7 separate regions of the Homo sapiens genome follow, and all the other regions are linked to region 5. Evidence: promoter capture Hi-C in 16 types of primary human blood cells and fetal thymus (Javierre and others, 2016). All regions are on one chromosome and are shown on one strand. The core of a region is centred on a gene start or on the middle of the fragment in contact, and the rest is flanking DNA. Distances in the headings are between cores, read along the strand shown. Region 1 overlaps ADK (adenosine kinase). Region 2 overlaps ADK (adenosine kinase). Region 3 overlaps AP3M1 (adaptor related protein complex 3 subunit mu 1). Region 4 holds the start of AP3M1 (adaptor related protein complex 3 subunit mu 1). Region 5 holds the start of SAMD8 (sterile alpha motif domain containing 8). Region 6 overlaps ADK (adenosine kinase). Region 7 overlaps ADK (adenosine kinase).

Region 1 (2,700 bases), core at 140-2,639, 910 kb before region 5:
TTATTAGACTTGCTTTGATCACATATGCAATTTAAGTGTGAATAAGTAAGTGTATTATCTTTCCCTCCTCCACTCAGCTTTCTTTAAATAGAAAAGGGACAAATATCTCTTTATTGCATATTCAGCCATAGTTGCTCAATCTATGGTGTTAATAAGAGACTGTAATTTTATCTTCTAAAAATCATTACAGATTATAATTATAGGCTGTACCTCATTCTCTTAAAGAAATATTGGCATGTTAGTCCATTGATATTACTGATAGTTGCCAAATGGTGAGAATGGTAACTGGTTTGGAGGCAACTGAAAGGGAGGGGGAATCATCAGTAAACTGGAGACCAATAAAAAATTACACAGAAACAAATCTTTTTGGATAAACTAGATGAATGTCTCTTATTGAGACTGATCCAACAGTATTCACTGGCCCATTTCTTGCTGCTAGATGAGCTTCTGTTTAAGGCATCACTTGTGGTGGAGTTCTTTCTTTTATTTGGATTGGAACCATACTGTGATCTCTTATGGAAAACAGACTTCCTCCAAGTCTGTTAAATATAATTTAAAATTATATCGTTTCTTGTTGATTTGTTTGTTTTTGTTTTGCTTTATTTCATGTTATAGGCATCTGAAATGAATCCTTATATATATAACATACAAGTATATGTATGAGAAGACATGAATATAAGAAGTATAGGAAACATAAGACATGAATAAAAGTTTTAGCTAGACATTTTTAGATGAAAAGATGTGCATTTAAATTTGTAAAAGTTACAAATCGTTCTATAAAAAGTTAGCATATATTTAAATTTTTTGGATACATAATAAGAGAATTATATCACTTCTGATATCCATTGTGAAGACCCTACCACAGTCATTTTTTTGTGAAGGGTAGATAGGGCTCTTGCTTGTACTCTTCCAGGATGTGCCACGGGCTCCCTAATAACATTCAGGGGAGTGCATGTGCAGGTTTGTTACATGGGTATATCATATGATACTGAAGTTTGGTTTTGTAATGATCCCCATCGTCTAAGTAGTGAACATAGTAACCAATAGGTAGTTTTTGAGCCCTTGCTTTCCTGTCTCCCTCCCTGATTTTGGAATCTCCAGTGTCTTTTGTCCCGACATCTTTGTGTCTCTGCGTACCCAGTGTTTAGCTTCCACTTATAAGTGAAAACATGTGATATTTGGCTTTCTGTTTCTATGTTAATTCACTTAGGATAATTCAGCTGCATCCATATTGCTGTAAAGGACATGATTTCGTTCTTTTTTTATGGCTGCATAGTATTCCATGGTGTATATGTATTGAATTTTCTTTATCCATTCTACCATTGATGGGCACCTAAGTTGATTCCATGTCTTTGCTATTGTGAAGAGTGCTGTAATAAACATATCCCTTTTTGGTAGAATGATTCATTTTTTTTCATTTTTTTTATTTTTTAGGCAGAGTCTCGCTCTGTCGCCCAGGCTGGAGCGCAGTGGCACGATCTCGACTCACTGCAACCTCCACCTCCTGGGTTCAAGTGATTCTCCTGCATCAGCCTCCTGAGTAGCTGGGACTACAGGTGCTCGCCACTACACCTGGCTAATTTTTGTATTTTTTATACAGATGGGGTTTCACCTTGTTGGTCAGGATGGTCTTGATCTGCTGACCTCATGATCCACCCACCTCGGCCTCCCAAAGTGCTGGGATTACAGGTGTGAACCACCGTGCCCAGCCTAGAATGATTCATTTTTCTTTGGGTATATACCCATAATGAGATTGCTGGGTCGGATGGTAATTATATTTTAAGTTTTTTGAGAGATCTTTAAACTTCTTTTCACAGGGGCTAACCTAATTTGCATTCCCATCAGCAGTTTATAAGTATTACCTTTTCTCTGCAACCTTGACACCATCTGTTTTTTTTTTTTTTTTTTTTTGACTCTTTAGTAATAGTTATTCTGGGCTGGGCACAGTGGCTCACACCTGTAATCCCAGCATTTTGGGAGGCTAAGGCAGGTGGATGTGCTGAGGTCAGGAGTTCGAGACCAGCCTGGCCAACATGGTGAAACCCCATCTCTACTAAAAATACAAAAATTAGCCAGGCATGGTGGCAGGCACCTTTAATCCCAGCTACTCAGGAGGCTGAGGCAGGAGAATCACTTGAACCTGGGAGGTGGAGGTTGCAGTGAGCTGAGATTGCACCATTGCACTCCGGCCTGGGCGACAAGAGCGAAACTCCGTGTCCAAAAAAAAAAAAAAAAAATAGGTATTCTCATTGGTGTGAGATGGTGTCTCATTGTAGTTTTGATTTGCATCTTTCTCTGATAATCATCTTTTTTTCTAAATGTCTTTATGCTACCTCTAAAATGTTCTACGTATAATAGGCAAATCAAATGTTTAATAAACTGGTGTGTTAGGTTTATTTTCAGGTTGAAATGAAGATAGTTATTTTTATTTTGTGTACCTTTTACATATCAACTTACTTTTAGAAGTATTTCTAACTTGTGTTTTGTGTTTTTTTAGAGAAAATATTCTCTTTGGAATGGGAAATCCTCTGCTTGACATCTCTGCTGTAGTGGACAAAGATTTCCTTGATAAGTAAGTATTAAACTCTTCATATGCACTATGTGGAACTTACATTTGAAGAAGAATGGATGAAAACTTTAGAAGTGAATTTACCACCGAATGTCTTCAATTAAAGGAAAACTCAGGAAATTTAAGTTTGG
Region 2 (2,700 bases), core at 109-2,608, 940 kb before region 5:
TCTTTGAGACAGAGTTGCTCTGTTGCCCAGGCTGGAGTGCAGTGGCCTCCTGGGTACACTTCCACTTCCTGGGTTCAAGTGATTCTCCTGACTCAGCCTCCCAAGTAGCTAGGATTAAGGGCATGCGCCACCACACCCAGTGAATTTTTGTATTTTTAGTAGAGACGGGGTTTCACTGTGTTGGCCTGGCTGGTCTTGAAGTTCCAACCTTAGGTGATCTGCCCGCCTCGGCCTCCCAAATTGCTGGGATTACAGGCGTGAGCCACCATGCCCGGCCAGTAGATTGTATTTTCTAATCAAAACTTTAGACAAACCAATTTTGCTTGTGTTTAATTAAAATGTTCTAGTTAAGAACAATTTATTAGTACTATTTTTTGAGATGGGGTCTTACTTGGTTGCAGAGGCTGTAGTGCAGTTGAACAATCTTAGCTCACTGTAACATTCACCTCCGGGCTCAAGCCATCCTCCCACCGCAGCCTCCCAAGTAGCTGGGACCACAGGCTTGTGCCACCACGCCCAACTAATTTTGGTATTTTTTGTAGAGATGAGGTTTTGCCATGTCACCCAGGCTGGTCTGAAACTCCTGGCCTCAAGTGTTCTGCCCACGTTGGCTACTCAGGAGGCTGAGGTAGGAGAATCGCTTGAACTTGGAAGGTGGAAGTTGCAATAAGCCAAGATTGCGCCACTGCACTCCAGCCTGGGTGACAAAGTGAGACTCCGTCTCAAAAAAAAAAAAAAAGAAAAAAAAAAAAGAAATGGTTAAAATAGGAAAAGTCTCAGTTCCTCTTAGCTATTTCTGATTGCTACATGACTTCCATGAAGCTTTTTAAGCTTTCACTCAGTTCTGAGGTGTTTATATGAGCTTGTGAGGAACTTCTGGTTACAAACTGTAATACCTATTGGCTTTTAGCATGGTGCAAGGAAAAGAGCTTTGGATTAGGGATAAGGACACCTGAGTCCTATTAAGGTCTCTGTCTGGATTTGTGAATGCACCTGTTAAGTGAGTTGTATAGACTAAAATGTTTTCCAGACTACATGAGCCTTTTTGAGTATTGCACAAGTGGTATTTTATAAACGAGAAATAGAATAAAAAATATTGTGCATTGAGTACCTAAGAGGTAAGTATTGCTCTGTGAATCATTGTTTCAGTTATATGTATAGGGTACTGGGTTACAATGTAAAAAATGTATTTTTAATTAAAAAAATATAAATGTAGAAAAATATAATAGAGATGAGGTCTCACTATGTTGCCCAGGCTGGTCTTGAACTCCTAAGCTCAAGTGATCCTCCCGCCTCAGCCTCCCAAAATGTTAGGATTACAGGCGTGAGCCACTGTGTCTGGCCAAAAAATGTATTTTTCACACAGTTTGGTTTTCTATTCCAAAATTTGGTGGCTTAAAATAACTACTTTATTAGATGTCATGATTTTTGGATTAGGAATTCAGACACAGCTTGGCCTGTTGATTCTGTTCTATATGGTGAATAAGATCACTTGGAGGTGTTTAGCTGACAACAGGTCTGGTCTGGAGGGTCCATCTTATCTTTATTCACTCACCTTATGCCTTAGGGTAACTGGAGGCTTGGCTCAACTGGGCTTCTCTTAGTGTAGTTTGAGATCCTCTCTGTGGTTTCTTCAGCTGGGTAGTTGGACTTCTCACGTGGCAGCTCCAAGAGACCAAAGCAGGAGCTGGCAGCCCTCTCAAAGGCTAGCTTAGAATCTGGCATAGCATCACCTTCACTATACACTATTGGTCAGAGGAGTTCCAGGCTAGCCCAGATTTAAGAGAAGGGAACATAGACTTCTTGTCTCTAAGATATTGTTCCCATTTTAAGTCTGCCACAATTATGTAAAATAATTTAGAAAAACATGACTGAATTATATATCCAAGCTTTTAATTCTGTTATTGCCCTTTGAAGGATGATCACTTTTAAAGTGTTTTTTCCTCCATTGGGAAATTTGTCTGCTTTTGGTAAATTTTCATAGTTCAATTTGAGTATGTATATTATTTTTCCATGGAATACTGAGGGTTTTATGCTTTTGAAGAAATGATTTAAAGTTTAAAATTTCTTTCTCTACATTGATCTGCTGGTTTTAATTCTTTGAATAGCACTTATGATCATTTGATGCTGTTCTTTTTTGTTACTTGATTATTCATCTTTCTCTCCTTAGAATGTAAGTTCTAAAAGGGCAGCACATGTTCTTGATCTTTGCCAAATCTGTAGTGTCTCCTGTAGTAGAACAGATGCTCGATAAATATTTGTTGAGTTAATGAATGAACAATTTAAAAGATTGTGAGCTGGGCGCGGTGGCTTACGCCTGTAATCCCAGCACTTTGGGAGGCCGAGGCGGGCAGATCATGAGGTCAGGAGATCGAGACCATCCTGTCTAACACAGTGAAACCCCATCTCTACTAAAAATACTAAAAAATTAGCGGGGCATGGTGGCATGCGCTGTAGTTCCAGCTACTTGGGAGCCTGAGGCAGGAGAATGGCATGAACCCGGGAGGCGGAGCTTGCAGTGAGCCGAGATCGCGCCACTGCACTCCAGCCTGGGCGACAGAGCGAGACTGTCTCAAAAAAAAAAAAAAAGAAAGAAAGAAAAAAAAGATTGTGAAGTATCATAGATCAGATCTACGTTGAAATGATAAAAATAAGGAAAATCTTTTTTTAGACGGAGTCTCTCTGTGTCGCCCAGGCTGT
Region 3 (2,700 bases), core at 20-2,519, 980 kb before region 5:
TCTACTAAAAATACAAAAATTAGCTGGGTGTGGTGGCTCATGCCTGTAGTCCCAGCTATTTGGAAGCCTGAGGCAGGAGAATCGCTTGAACCTGGGAAGCGGAGATTGCAGTGAGCTGAGATCGTGCCACTGCACTCCAGCCTGGGCAAAGGAGCGAGACGCCATCTCAAAAAAAAAAAAAAAAAAAAAAAAAAAAAAAGTAAAAAATAACAATATAACTACAATAAAAATAAAAAGTCAACATGGTATAACAATTATTTACACAGTGTTTACAGTGTACTATCACAAGTAACTTGGAGATGATTTAAAGTATACAGGAGGATGTGCATAGGTTATATGCAAATACTACACCATTTTATGTAAGGGACTCGAGCATCTGCTGATTTTTGCAACCAGTCCTCCAAGGATACCAAGATGGCAGTACCTCTAGAACTGCAGATTCAGTATCTACACAAGGGGGAGCTGAGTACAGCATAATGTTCTTGTACCACTGTGCTGGGAACTGTATACAAATCAAGACAGAAATCTGAAGTTTAATAACAGTATAAACAATTGGGGTGGCTGGGTGCAGTGGCTCACACCTGTAATCCCAGCACTTTGGGAGGCCAAGGCAGGCAGATCACTGGAGGTCAGGAGTTTGAGACCAGCCTGGCCAACATGGTGAAATCCCCTCTCTAATAAAAAAAAAAAATAACAAAAAACAAAAATTAGCTGGGCGCGGTGGCAGGTGCCTGTAATCCCAGCTACTTGGGAGGCTGAGGCAGGAGAATCGCTTGAACCCAGGAGGTAGAGGTTGCAGTGAGCCAAGATCACACCATTGCACTCCAGCCTGGGTGACAATAGTGAAACTCCGTCTCAAAACAAACAAACAAAACAAAATAACATAAAACAAACAAACAAAAACAATTGGGGCAAATGGCCCTAGTTTAAAATGAATTATGATCCCACTGAAAAATAATGTAAAATATGTTTTATATAAATGAAAACAGTTCCTATGTGATAAGAGCCAAGAAACAGGCCAGGCACGGTGGCTCACGCCTGTAATCCCAGCACTTTGGGAGGCTGAGGTGGGCAGATCACCTGAGGTCTGGAGTTCGAGACCAGTCTGACCAACATGGAATAACCCCGCCTCTACTAAAAACACAAAATTAGCCGGGTGTGGTGGTGCATGCCTGTAATCCCAGCTACTTGGGAGGCCGAGGCAGGAGAATCACTTGAACCCTGGAGGTGGAGGTTGCAGTAAGCCGAGATTTCACCATTGCACTCCAGCCTGAGCAACAAGAGCCAAACTCCGGCTTAAAAAAAAAAAAAAAAAAAAAAAAGGAAAAGAAAAGAGCCGAGAAATAATTTCTCTGTTTTTGAGTTCTGTCATGATGTTACTCAAATAACTTTTGGTATTTTCAAGAAACAAACTACCTATAACTCCGATCCCCAATGCTAAATTTTTTTTTTTTTTGAGATGGAGTTTTACCCTGTTGGCCAGGCTGTAGTGCAGTGGTGTGATCTGTCACTGCAACCTCTGCCTTCCAGGTTCAAGTGATTCTCATGCCTCAGCCTCCTAAGTAGTTGAGATTATATAGGCACACGCTACCACGCCTGGCTAATTTTGTGTTTTTAGTAGAGACAGGGTTTCACCATGTTGACCAGACTGGTCTAGAACTCTTGACCCCAAGTGATCTGCCCACATTGGCCTCCCAAAGTGTTGGGATTACAGGAGTGAACCACTGCACCCGGCCCCTCAATGCTAAACAGTTCCTTAAAAACTCAACGCAGAGAAGACGTACTTGAAGCAGGTAAATTGGGGAATGTCCTCACGAACTACAGGTAGGTCTGTCTCCTTGTTGGCCACAAACTCTACAGACTATGGTAAGATTATGGCAATGGTTCATGGTTTTGCCCAGGTTATGCATGGTCCGTTTTGCTCTGCTTGCAAAGTACTCAGCTTTCAGAAGCAGAGCAAAATGGACCATGCATAACCTGAGCAAAGAACCAGTGCCATAATTTGACCATGCATAACCTTGCAAAGGACCGGTACCACAATTTTTGCCCAGGTTATGTATGGTTTGCTTGTTCTTGGCTATAGATTTTACTCTAGTCTCACTTAGTACCACTCTACACTCATACATTCAAAGTATACGGATTATTTTAGGTGCGTATTTTCACCCGTTCTCACTGGGTCTCCTGGTGAGCTATGGTTAAAGTGAGCAGTGATGACCTCAAGTACTCAACTTTCAGAAAGAAACAGGGAAAGGTGAGTTGTACTTGATATGTATGATGGCAGATTCTGGCTGATGCATCAACATACTTTTGTGAGCTGACACGGTATGATATGAGTCGGAAATTTCCATCTGGAGGAATAAATGACAAAACTCTTTCAGATTCCCAACGCTTGAACCGGATGCAGGGGTGAAAGCTGACATCATCCAGAAGCCTAGGGTTCTGCCAGAAAAACAGAAGACAGTCGTTCATAGACTATAATGAATATGGGAACTGTACTCAGATACCTTGACAAATATGTTCCCTGAAGATAAAGCAGTCATGGAAGAGTTTATGACCACATCTACACAACCTTATAGTTTCATAATGCTTTAAAGTTTGTAAATATTTTATGTACATTATTTTATTTGAATTTCAATAACTATAAAGGAGAAAAGGCAAGTAGTATTATTTCCCTTTAACAGATTAAAAAACTGAGGTTCA
Region 4 (2,700 bases), core at 167-2,666, 960 kb before region 5:
ACCAAGTAGCTGGGACTACAGGCGTGTGCCACCACACCTGGCTAATTTTTGTATTTTTAGTAGAGACAGGGTTTCACTATGTTGGCCAGGTTGGTCTCGAACTCCTGACTTTGTGATCCGCCCGCTTCAGCCTGCCAAAGTGCTGAGATTACAGGCGTGAGCCACCGCGCCTGGCCAAGATTCGTAAATTAAGATAATTCTTCATTAACCTCATTCACTTCACTTCTCCTATAGTGTCAATTGAAAGTGTCCCTCTGTCTTTCCCAAATTAATCCTTTCACTTGTAACTTGATCCCATTCCTTTCCTTCTCTTCTGGGAGACAAGACTTTTTCTTGAATCTTCAAATAGTTGCTTGCTTCCTGCCCCCAAATAGATATCTTGTATTCTTTAAAACAAACCCCAAACTTTCCCCCACCTTGCCACTCTCAATAATCTTGCTTCATGCCCCAAATGATGAAGGATTGGTCTACACTTGCAGTCTTTCCTCAGTTACTATTAAAGCATCTCTCTCAAACAGCTCAATGACTTTCTAATTATAAAATCCAACGACCTATTCTGATTTCAGCTTCCTCCTCTGACCATTGCAGCATTTTATGTCATTGATAACTTTCTCCTAAACAAAAATACTTCTTACCCTTTTATATGAAACTTCATCTGTTTTGGGTCTCACCTTGAAAGTCTTTCGGGCTTAATTCTCATAATTTTTTTTAAAGTCTTTCTACAATCTCCATGTAAACCACTGTTTCAAATTCGATAAAACTCAAACTCCATAAAATACCTCCTCCTGTCACTGGCACCATCTTCTTAATCACACATAAGGCTGTAAGTTTCAGGTTCAAACAAATCTACCAAATACAAACAGCCACATCGCCCGTCACTCTTCCACACTCACTGCCACCTGCTCAGCTTAGAACCCCGTTACCTCTCTCCTGAAGAACTGCAACACCCTTCTCACTGCATTCCTCACCCCAGGCTCTTCCAGGCACCACCCGCTAACAGGACGTCTGCTCAGGTCCGTTTGGGGTTTTGTCCTCCAAAGCAGAAACCTGGGACTGAGATTCCTGCCGTCTGTACTCCAGCTCACTATAGAGGGGGAACCCAGTAAGCTTGACCTCCGGGGCTCAGGCGCCTGAGAACACTGGGCTGCAGGTGGACCGCTCCCTTCTGGCCTTGCTGGCGAGAAAGCCCGGAAGGCCGGGAGTGGGGGGGAAGCGAGGCCCGGGCCAACAGCACCAAAGACGCTCCTAGAGCCCAGATCGGAGTCGGGGGCCCCAGCTATTCAGCCTACTCCCGGGTTTTGGAGCTGTCCCCAGTCCACAGATTTCCCGCCCCTCACACTCACCCCAACACCTGTGCCAGTCAGTGATTCGGCGCCGGATCCTCTCCTACCGAAGCTGGAGAAGCCGAGAAGGCCGCGAGGACCCGCAGCTGGAGTGCCCAGGAAATTGCCTGATTAACAGCTTCAAAGACACCGACTCTGTCTACCGTATTAGAAATTTTAAATATGCAGGAAGACCGTAAATGAGAGGAAAGACGTCTCTTGAGGCTTAGTATCTAAATCTTCTACATAATCCAGGGCCTAGAAAAATGGTGGGTTTCTCTCCATCTAGATTCAGGCGGTCATCTGCTGCCTAACGCAGTCTGGGGTCCCTCATGGTAGGGGAGGCGGGGTCAGGAATGGGCGGGGCATTCGCTGTTGGTGCCGACGGATAGAGCCAATGATTGTGGATGACAGCGGCACAGAATGGGCGGAGTCTGGAGGGGCGGGATTTGGAGAAGAGAAAGCGGTGATGCGAAGAGGGGGCGGGACCAGAGAGTGGATGGCAGAGGTGGGCTGTAGAGCCAAAGTGGGGTGGGAGCGCGAAGATGGCAGCTGCTGAGGAGGAGCCGAAGCCCAAAAAGCTGAAGGTGGAGGCGCCGCAAGCGCTGAGGTGAGCGCTGCCGGACTTGGGGAGGAGGGTGACGGCGCTGCAAGCAAGCCAGGGCCCACGTGGGGTTGCACGGCCCCGACGCTGGGTGGTGTCTCTCACTGCCAGCTTGGGGCCAACACGCAGGACCTCCCCCAGCTGCCCGCTTGGCCGCGACCCCTTGCCAGACGTTCTCTCCGTTTGGCTGAGTCCCCGCCTGTCTGGTGCAGCTCCGGCTCCAGCAGCCCTTCGCCAGTCGTGGCCCGCAGGGGGACCGAGCTGGCTGACCGCGCCACCTGCGAGCAAGCCCAGGCTGGGCTGGTGCGACCCCGGAGGGTCGGACCGGAGCAGCGTCTGTAGGCGGCCGCCTTCTCTTCCCGGGGGATGGCGGGAAAGAGGCTCGGCAACTGCTGTACACTGGGGCAAAGTCAGAATTCTTGGGGATTTTTCAGAGTGTTGCGGAAGGGCACGTTGACCTTCCTTTTCGTGCACATTCTGAAAGCCCGTACCTTTGAGGACCCTCTACCAGGGACCCAGACCCCTCCGATGCTTTGCAGGGGCAGCATTTGGATGAATGGATAGGAAAGGTTGATTTCTCTTTTTTATTTACACTTTTTGGCAGCAACGGGGACAGTGCTGCCCCTAACACCTGCCTCACATGTGATTGATGTTGCAACTTTTACTTATGAAGAGTCATTTGTTAAAATATCCCTTCCTAATAAGTATAAAGTGAAGCAGGCAGTCTTTGATGATTTGGAAATGTTCGCTGAAAGGCAGCGATTTTTTTTTCCA
Region 5 (2,700 bases), core at 167-2,666:
GAGCCAAAGGGGCTAACTGTCATCAGAAACAGTGGGAGGGAGATTCCTCTGCCTATAAGGGCTTTGGGTCCCAAAATAGAAACTGAGAAAGGTCAACCTGTCCTTCTGCCAGAGCTGGTTATCAGCAAGAGAGATGAGATGTCTCACCCTCTCTCATGTGACTTCTCAGTGGCCCTAATGGAGCTGGGAAGGGTATGAGCTGCAGTGGGGAGGTTCCCAGCTGCCCTTGGCCTTAAGACCAGTTTGAAGGGAAAGGCCACACCAGGGCATCCCATGGAAGCAGTCTACACTCATGTCTATCCCATTCAGAACCATTGAAGTCGGCCCGGCACTGTGTGGGGAGGCAAGACCAAGGAGGGGCTCGTGTCCAGGTTACAGCTGGGTTTGGACTTGGTTTATGCCAATGCTAGACCTGGCTTGGGAGGAGACCTTCCCTCAGGGTGGTGCAGCATGGTGGAGTGAGGAAAATACAGGATCTGATGTTAGAGAGATTTGGGTTGGAATATCAGTTTGCAATATGTCAGGCAGTATGTTTCTTTACTTTTCTGTGCTATAGGATCCCCCTTGCAGAATTAGCACTAGGATTTTTTTTTTGAGATGGAGTTTGCTCTTGTCGCCCAGGCTGGAGTGCCATGGCGTGATCTCGGCTCATTGCAACCTCCATTTCCCGGGTTCAAGCGATTCTCCTGCCTCAGCCTCCCGAGTAGCTGGGATTACAGGTATGCACCACCACGCCCGGCTAATTTTTGTATTTTTAGTACAGACGAGGTTTCCCCATGCTGGCCAGGCTGGTCTCGAACTCCTGACCTCAGGTGATCCCGCCTCAGCCTCCCAAAGTGCTGGGATTACAGACGTGAGCCTCCGCTCCCGGCCTTAGCACAAGGATTAAATGAGATGTTTATATGGCGTTTGGCATAGACACTGTCAAAGAGTAAATGGGCAATAAATTATAACAATGATCATTGGGGGCTGGCTATTGGAGAAGAGCTGGCTCTCTCCAGAGGAATTCGGATTACCTCCTTCTAGGCCCTAACCCCATTTACTGATCCCACAGGCCCCGCCCCGGCTCCGCTAGCCCCGCTTCCTCCTGTCGCTTTGGCCTCCGGCATGACGCATGCGCCCTCGGGCTCCTCCGCGGCAGCATCTCGGTTCTCCTCTCGGGCCCATCTGGAGCCTCGCGTCTTTTCCAGTGTGGGCCCCGCCCCCTGCCGGTAGAACCCCGTCCCCGGCCGGTAGGGCCCCGCCTCCCGAAGCAGTTCCGGTTCGGCTCCGAGCAGCTGCCGGCGCGGCGGTGACGGCGGCCGGGACGATGCCTGCGCGCAGTCGCCACCGCCCCCGCCTCCACTCCGGCTCCCCGCCCCGGGCTCCGCCCCCGCCGCTTGAGGCGCTTCACTCCGGCGAGGCGGGGAGGGCCCCGGACTCCGACGGCGGCTCGGACGCCGACTCGGAGGTGGGTCCGGGGAGCCCGACTCGGACCGCGGAGGTGAGCGGGAGCTGAGGCTGAGGAGAGGGGAGCTTGGGGGGCGCCTGCTGCCAAGGGTGAGTGGGGAGTCTGGGATGGAGCCGGGGGCTGCCGAGGGACCGCGACCTGGAGGGGCCCCGGGGAGACGGTTGAGGGAACCGGGATAGTCAGCTCTGGAATGGAATCTGAAGCAAATGGAGGTTGTCGAACTGAGGGCCTGAAGGCTGAGGGATAAGTGGAGGCCGAGGAACGAGAGGGAGAGAGCGAGAGGGGGAGGCTTGAAGAGCCCAGAGCTTGGGGGCTTTTGAAAGCTGCGCAGTGGGGGAAAAAGATCGAAGGTCCTGCGGGAATGTGGACCCGGAAGAAGAGATGCTCTGGGTTTGGCAGCGGGGATGAGGAGTCAGAGGAGCAAGACCTGGGCCGGTGTTCCCTTCCCAGGGCGAGGGAGGGCGATCGGGGCTGGGACTGGAGCCCTCTCATGGGGTTCTCCTCTTACGGAGCCCTCTTATCCGCCTCCCACCCCGGGTGGGGCTGGTGGTGATGGAGGGCAGGATTTAGGTTTGACTAGAAGGAGGAGGGCTGTTGGATGGGAAATCGTCTGGCCTCAAGGGGTGAGGGAGGCACTGAAAAAGAGAAGTGTGGTCAAGAAAGAAAAGGAGCCCTTGGGGATCTAATTTTGGGCTTTGGCATTTTTACAGGTGCCTTTTAAAACATCAAAGATCACTAGGGCAATGTACTTGGATCGTGGGGCTTTCTCGTTCGTGCACAGTGGATCATTTTAAGAATCTTGGGTGGAAGGGGCGGTGTGAATCACTGATTTGCCTAAAGGACTGGGGGAAGTAGTGGAGAGGAAGTGATGTTTGAAGAAGGTAGTGGAAGACGTGATTCTGAAAATGAAGATATCATTTGGATTTATTGACAGTAATGGTGTCCTTTTTTTCATTGTAATTTTTTCGTAGCTAAGTTTAAATACCAGACATGTTAAGATCCTAAAAATTTACTATATTACCTTTAAGTTTTAAAAACTTGAAACAAGACTTTGGATACTCAGATTTTAAAAATTAAACTTGAAACAAGAATTTGGACACTTGGATTTTACAGATACTCAACATGGACTGGTTCCACTTTCAAAGTTTTAAGTTGACACATGTATTTGCCACATAGTAAATGTATGGTCAATGCAAGTTTCTGGGTGAAGGGGGCACAGTGAACTTGCCACAGTCTAGGCGCAATACCAA
Region 6 (2,700 bases), core at 183-2,682, 900 kb before region 5:
ATAATGCGCTGGACACTTTTTGTGTAATGTTATTTGATCTGGATAGCAACCCTGTGACATAGGCAGGTTTATCCTCATTAGAGAAATTAAGTGGCTTGCCCAGTTCAGAAAACAAGTTAATGTCAGAATCAGGATGATATTGCAGGTTTTTTGATTTGTATCTAGTGATTTTTTTCACTCAGTTGTTCTCTTTGTAGGGGCTAGAGGCAGAATAAAGAGGCCCCTTCCCTGTGCTCCCTCTTGCTTCCCCGTCTTCTATTCTTTGGAGTGTATGTCATTTTTCTCCAGTAATTTAGGGCAGAAAAAAATGTTGAGGACTACCACTGTACCATTTTGTTGTCTCTGATTTTTAGGAACTATGTTCATGGTAAGAATTGATTATAAAAGAATACCTATCTATGCCATTAGAAAACAAAACATCCAAAATATAGGCTGTGCTTTGCATCATTCTATGAAAGCCATGGTGGGAAGTTGGGTTATAGCTTTCTACTAAGTTGAAAGTAGGCTCTGTCGCCTAGGTTGGAGTGCAGTGGCACAATCTTGGCTCACTTACAACCTCCATCTCCCAGGTTCAAGTGATTCTCCTGCCTCAGCCTCCCCAGTAGCTGGGACCACAGGCGCCTGCCACCACGCCTGGCTAATTTTTGTATTTTTAGTAGAGATGGGGTTTTGCTGATGGGGTTTCGCTGTGTTGGCCAGGCTGGTCTCAAACTCCTGACCTCAAGTGATCTGCCTGCCTTGGCCTCCCAAAGTGCTGGGATTATAAGCATGAGCCACTGCGCCCAGCTAATGATTTTTAATAACTTTATATAATACTGATAAATCACTCTTTTTTTTTTTTTTTTTTAAGACAGAGTCTTGCTCTGTCACCCAGGCTAGAGTGCAGTGGCTCGATCTCGGCTCACTGCAAGCTCTGCCTCCTGGGTTCACCCCATTCTCCTGCCTCAGCCTCCCAAGCAGCTGGGACTACAATGCCTGGCTAATTTTTTTGTATTTTTTTTAGTAGAGACGGGGTTTCACCATGTTAACCAGGATGGTCTCGATCTCCTGACCTTGTGATCCGCCCGTCTCGGCCTCCCAAAGTGCTGGGATTACAGGCGTGAGCCACCGCGCCTGGCCTAAATCACTCTTTTTAGTGGACTCTAAATACCACTGTGATTTGATACCCCTTTTATTCATTTATAAAAATACATAAACAGCTTCCTTTTTTGATGTTTAAAAATTTTATAGTCCTTTCTGTCTTGAATTTGCATTTCTGTTATACTTTTCACACCAGATTCTATTCTTATATGATGTATTTTATGCATAAGTTATATTTTGCCTGTAACATGCATACATTATGAAGGTAGTATATTTTTATGCATTACAGTCTTTCATGCATATTGATTACCCTATTATATGTCTTTGCAGCCAGCCAAAATGTGTAAATTTTAAAATATCTCTTAGTCATTAAATTGTAATTAGCACACGGTAAAATAACAAATGTATTAAAATGTTGCTAAATTATTTTTTATTTATTAAAAAAATTTTTTTTCTCCTTCTCTGCCTTCAAAATGTTGCTTCTCTGCCTTCAAAATGTTGGTACATTATTAAACAGAAGAAAATAGGCCAGGTGCAGTGGCTCGCACCTGTAATCCTAGTACTTTGGGAGGACAAGGTGGGCGGATCACTTGAGGTGAGGAGTTGGTGACCAGCCTGGCCAACGTGGTGAAACTTCGTTTCTACTTAAAATACGAAAATTAGCCGGGCGTGGGGGTGCATGCCTGTAGTCCCAGCTATTTTGGGGACTGAGGCACGAGAATTGCTTGAACCCAGCAGGCAGAGGTTGCGGTGAGCCACAATCATGCCACTGTACTTCAGCCTGGGTGACAGAGTGAAACTCTGTCTCAAAAAAAAAAATAAAAAAAAAAAAGTTTCACAGACAAAATATGAATCATTCCTTGTTTAACACTTAAAAGGTTTTTATACTCAGGCAATAGAATAGTGTATAGTTTCATTCACAATAGGTGAGGAGTATGTCATCCTTTTTATATTAATAAAAAGTGAGAGGAGCCCAGATGGCCGAATAGGAACAGCTCCGGTCTACAGCTCCCAGCGTGAGCGATGCAGAAGACGGGTGATTTCTGCATTTCCATCTGAGGTACTGGGTTCATCTCACTAGAGAGTGCCAGACAGTGGGCGCAGGTCAGTGCGTGCAGCGCACCGTGCATGAGCCGAAGCAGGGCGAGGCATTGCCTCACTCGGGAAGCACAAGGGGTCAGGGAGTTCCCTTTCCTAGTCAAAGAAAGGGGTGACAGATGGCACCTGGAAAATCGGGTCATTCCCACCCGAATACTGCACTTTTCCGACGGGCTTAAAAAACGGCACACCAGGAGATTATATCCTGCACCTGGCTCGGAGGGTCCTACGCCCACGGAGTCTTGCTGATTGCTAGCACAGCAGTCTCAGATCAAACTGCAAGGCGGCAGCGAGGCTGGGAGAGGGGCGCCCGCCATTGCCCAGGCTTGCTTAGCTAAACAAAGCAGCCGGGAAGCTCCAACTGGGTGGAGCCCACCACAGCTCAAGGAGGCCTTCCTGCCTCTGTAGGTTGCACCTCTGGGGGCAGGGCACAGACAAACAAAAAGACAGCAGTAACCTCTGCAGACTTATATGTCCCTGTCTGACAGCTTTGAAGAGAGCAGTGGTTCTCCCAGCACGCAG
Region 7 (2,700 bases), core at 56-2,555, 850 kb before region 5:
AAGGGTATTGAGAGAACTGCAGACACTACTTCTGTGTTTTGTTTCAGAAATGTTCTTTTTCCTCACTTGCTTCCTTCTTAATAAATTAGTTTTTATTTATTTTTATAGTGAGAATTATGAGCTTTTCCTCTTGCTTGAATACCTTTTTAAAGGAGTTATGAGAAATATTTAAGTATTTTTTTAGTGTAGTTTAGTGTTGTAAGTAGACAAAATATTATTAGATGTATTCTTTTATTTGCTTACATAAGTTGGCATCACTTACTATAGTAAATGACCACTAATAGTGTAATTTCTTGGAAAATCTAGCCTAAAAGGTCAATATTAATAATTGGTTTTCTCCTCTAAAAGGATTTGTACTAAGATGATTTACTTTCAAAGTACTCAGTATTAGCCTATAGCCTTTTTTCTAATCTTTAATATTGTATCTTTGATCTTAATTTAAAGTTTTGATGAACTTGTTGCTTCTATTTTCTCTCTTATAGTATAAATTATCTGTAATAAGCCACCTTAATTAAAGTTGGTAAATCTACAACTGCTTCAATTATACACTAATCAATTATACACTAATTTAATTCTACTTAGCAGGATACGGTACATCATTAATCAGTTTTAGACTTAATACAACAGATTTAGAAGTAATCAAAATTGAAGCATTTTATTTAGCTGGGAAAAAAATGAAGGGTCATAATCTAGTAATTCACATATCAATTCTGATAAAAATCAAAGATTCTTTGCTAAAAATGAAGGAATGTAGCTGTTATGTTTACTGTTGAGTGCCATGGGCTGAAGCTGTGATTATATAATATCTTTAGATGTTAATAGCATAATAGTTTTGTGCTCTACCTTTTTCTTTAAATTGTTATTCATGTTACTAAATGGGTTGTTTTCTGTAACATGATTGTTTAACGTATACATAATATAAGAATTCCTTGAGTGAATATCTTTTTTGTTGTTGTTGTTTGTTTTTGTGTTTTTTTTTTTTTTTTTTTTTTGAGACGGAGTCTCCCTGTGTCGCCCAGGCTGGAGTGCAGTGGCATGATCTCGGCTCATTGCAACCTCTCCATCCTGGGTTCAAGCGATTCTCGTGCCTTAGCCTCCCAAGTAGCTGGGATTACAGGCATGTGGCCTAGCTAATTTTTGTATTTTTAGTAGAGAAGAGGTTTCGCCATGTTGGCCAGGCTGATTTCGAACTCCTGGCCTCAAGTGATCTGCCTGCCTCAGCCTCCCAAAGTGTTGGGATTACAGGTGTGAGCCACTGTGCCTGGCATATAGAATATTTACTAGTAGTTTGTTTTGAACATGTAAGCATGTGCACAAATGTATTTTTTTCAGAATTATGTTAAATAAGATGATTAGATATAATTAACTCAAAAATCTTTAGCAAAATGATCTTTGTTTTCTGTGATTGAGGTGGTGACAAATTTGCCTTAGAATTCTTGGGGATGTGTTATAAACTCGATGTAATCATTTTTCTTTTCCTTTTTTTTTTTTTTTTTTGAGACGGAGTCTTGCTCTGTCACCCAGGCTGGAGTGCAGTGGCGCGATCTCGGCTCACCGCAAGCTCCACCTCCTGGGTTCATGCCATTCTCCTGCCTCAGCCTCCCAAGTAGCTGGGACTACAGGCACCCGCCACCATGCCTGGCTATTTTTTTTGTATTTTTAGTAGAGACGGGGTTTCACCATGTTAGCCAGGATGGTCTCGATCTCCTGACCTCGTGATCCGTCTGCCTTCGCCTCCCAAAGTGCTAGGATTACAGGCGTGAGCCACCCTGCCCGGCCCATTTTTCTCAATTATCTGCTCATTGAATTAAATGACTCAGATTGAATTTCATTACTCATTCTTTCTATACATGTTCATATTATTGGAAACACTTCTTGTCCTGCTCAGCTTTCTTTCCAATAAATTAGTAATTCTTTGCTCACTCGTCTTGTATTCCTTTATAAGAATGTTCTAGATAGGGATATTCTAAGTTTTGAAGACTATGTATGTTAAGTGCATTTTACCCTTTTGAGAGAGTTTTAGTAACAAGTTTCAGGGAACCCCTAGGACTCTGACCCATTATAGCTTTGGCCATTTAAAAAAAAAAACCTTCAAAGGTAATATGTGTACATGGTTAACAATCAAATAGAACAGATGGTCTGTCTAATAATGAAAAACAAGAAAAATCTTGCCCTATGTTTCTCTGTTCCCACTCCCCCCAAAATCAGCCACTTGTAACTGATTCTGTTTTCAGTGCTTATTGTGGTTGTCTCAACCTGTAGTAGAATTATAGATTCTTTTGTTTGTTTGTTTGTTTTGCTTTTTAAATTAGAGACAAGTTCTTGCCCTCTCACCAGGTTGGAGTACATTGGTGTGATCACAGCTCACTGAAGCCTTGAACTCCTGGGCTCAAGCCATCCTCCTGCCTCAGCTTCCTGTGCAGCTGGGACTACAGGCATGCACCACTCCACCCAGCTAATTTTTTAATTTTTTTGTAGAAACAGGGTTTTGCTGTGTTGTCCCTTGAATGCCTGGCCTCAAGTGATCCTCCTGCCTTGGCCTGTGATTATAGGCGTGAGCCACTGTGCCCAGCCTTAGAAATTATTTCTCAATGCTTTTGCTCTTCTGTGTTCTGTGATTAGGTGACTCTTTATCTCACACCACTTCTACCTTTTCTCCATCCTTCCAAGTTGTGATCACTGTTTTCGTTCCTAAATTGG

The links. The method cuts DNA at HindIII sites, captures the fragments that hold promoters and counts their contacts. A CHiCAGO score of 5 or more calls a contact.
Region 1: a contact is called between a fragment that was not itself captured here and the fragment with the promoter of SAMD8 in region 5, in 1 of 17 cell types (fetal thymus). The highest score is 6.6, in fetal thymus.
Region 2: a fragment that was not itself captured here is called in contact with the fragment with the promoter of SAMD8 in region 5 in 1 of 17 cell types (monocytes); the score reaches 5.4 in monocytes.
Region 3: a contact is called between a fragment that was not itself captured here and the fragment with the promoter of SAMD8 in region 5, in 5 of 17 cell types (naive CD8 T cells, total CD8 T cells, endothelial precursors and 2 more). The highest score is 7.6, in naive CD8 T cells.
Region 4: a contact is called between the fragment with the promoter of AP3M1 here and the fragment with the promoter of SAMD8 in region 5, in 9 of 17 cell types (fetal thymus, naive CD4 T cells, total CD8 T cells and 6 more). The highest score is 11.4, in fetal thymus.
Region 6: a contact is called between a fragment that was not itself captured here and the fragment with the promoter of SAMD8 in region 5, in 1 of 17 cell types (fetal thymus). The highest score is 5.9, in fetal thymus.
Region 7: a contact is called between a fragment that was not itself captured here and the fragment with the promoter of SAMD8 in region 5, in 17 of 17 cell types (total CD4 T cells, naive CD8 T cells, monocytes and 14 more). The highest score is 19.2, in total CD4 T cells.

What each region holds. Positions count from the first base shown.
Region 1 is chr10:74,198,267-74,200,966 of GRCh38, forward strand. ADK (adenosine kinase) reads left to right here. Exons shown (of 11, transcript NM_006721.4): 2 at 2,498-2,572. Among named protein-coding and RNA genes, the nearest start is that of ADK, 48 kb to the left of the region's middle. The HindIII fragment of the contact is 5,555 bases long and covers 1-2,700 here.
Region 2 is chr10:74,165,963-74,168,662 of GRCh38, forward strand. All of the region lies in intron 1 of ADK (adenosine kinase), which reads left to right. Among named protein-coding and RNA genes, the nearest start is that of ADK, 16 kb to the left of the region's middle. RefSeq lists an enhancer at 1,634-1,753. The HindIII fragment of the contact is 1,058 bases long and covers 830-1,887 here.
Region 3 is chr10:74,126,803-74,129,502 of GRCh38, forward strand. AP3M1 (adaptor related protein complex 3 subunit mu 1) reads right to left here. Exons shown (of 9, transcript NM_012095.6): 6 at 2,306-2,439. Among named protein-coding and RNA genes, the nearest start is that of AP3M1, 23 kb to the right of the region's middle. The HindIII fragment of the contact is 4,436 bases long and covers 1-2,700 here.
Region 4 is chr10:74,149,412-74,152,111 of GRCh38, forward strand. AP3M1 (adaptor related protein complex 3 subunit mu 1) reads right to left here and starts at 1,417. Exons shown (of 9, transcript NM_012095.6): 1 at 1,344-1,417. ADK (adenosine kinase) reads left to right here and starts at 1,810. Exons shown (of 11, transcript NM_006721.4): 1 at 1,810-1,932. The coding sequence starts at 1,868. RefSeq lists enhancers at 1,341-1,570, 1,981-2,160. The HindIII fragment of the contact is 5,595 bases long and covers 1,106-2,700 here.
Region 5 is chr10:75,110,240-75,112,939 of GRCh38, forward strand. SAMD8 (sterile alpha motif domain containing 8) reads left to right here and starts at 1,417. Exons shown (of 6, transcript NM_001174156.2): 1 at 1,417-1,483. RefSeq lists enhancers at 227-1,176, 1,177-2,125 and a silencer at 1,164-1,503. The HindIII fragment of the contact is 16,308 bases long and covers 1-2,700 here.
Region 6 is chr10:74,214,837-74,217,536 of GRCh38, forward strand. All of the region lies in intron 2 of ADK (adenosine kinase), which reads left to right. Among named protein-coding and RNA genes, the nearest start is that of ADK, 65 kb to the left of the region's middle. The HindIII fragment of the contact is 4,150 bases long and covers 1-2,700 here.
Region 7 is chr10:74,257,978-74,260,677 of GRCh38, forward strand. The region is part of intron 3 of ADK (adenosine kinase); the gene reads left to right. Among named protein-coding and RNA genes, the nearest start is that of ADK, 110 kb to the left of the region's middle. The HindIII fragment of the contact is 6,384 bases long and covers 1-2,700 here.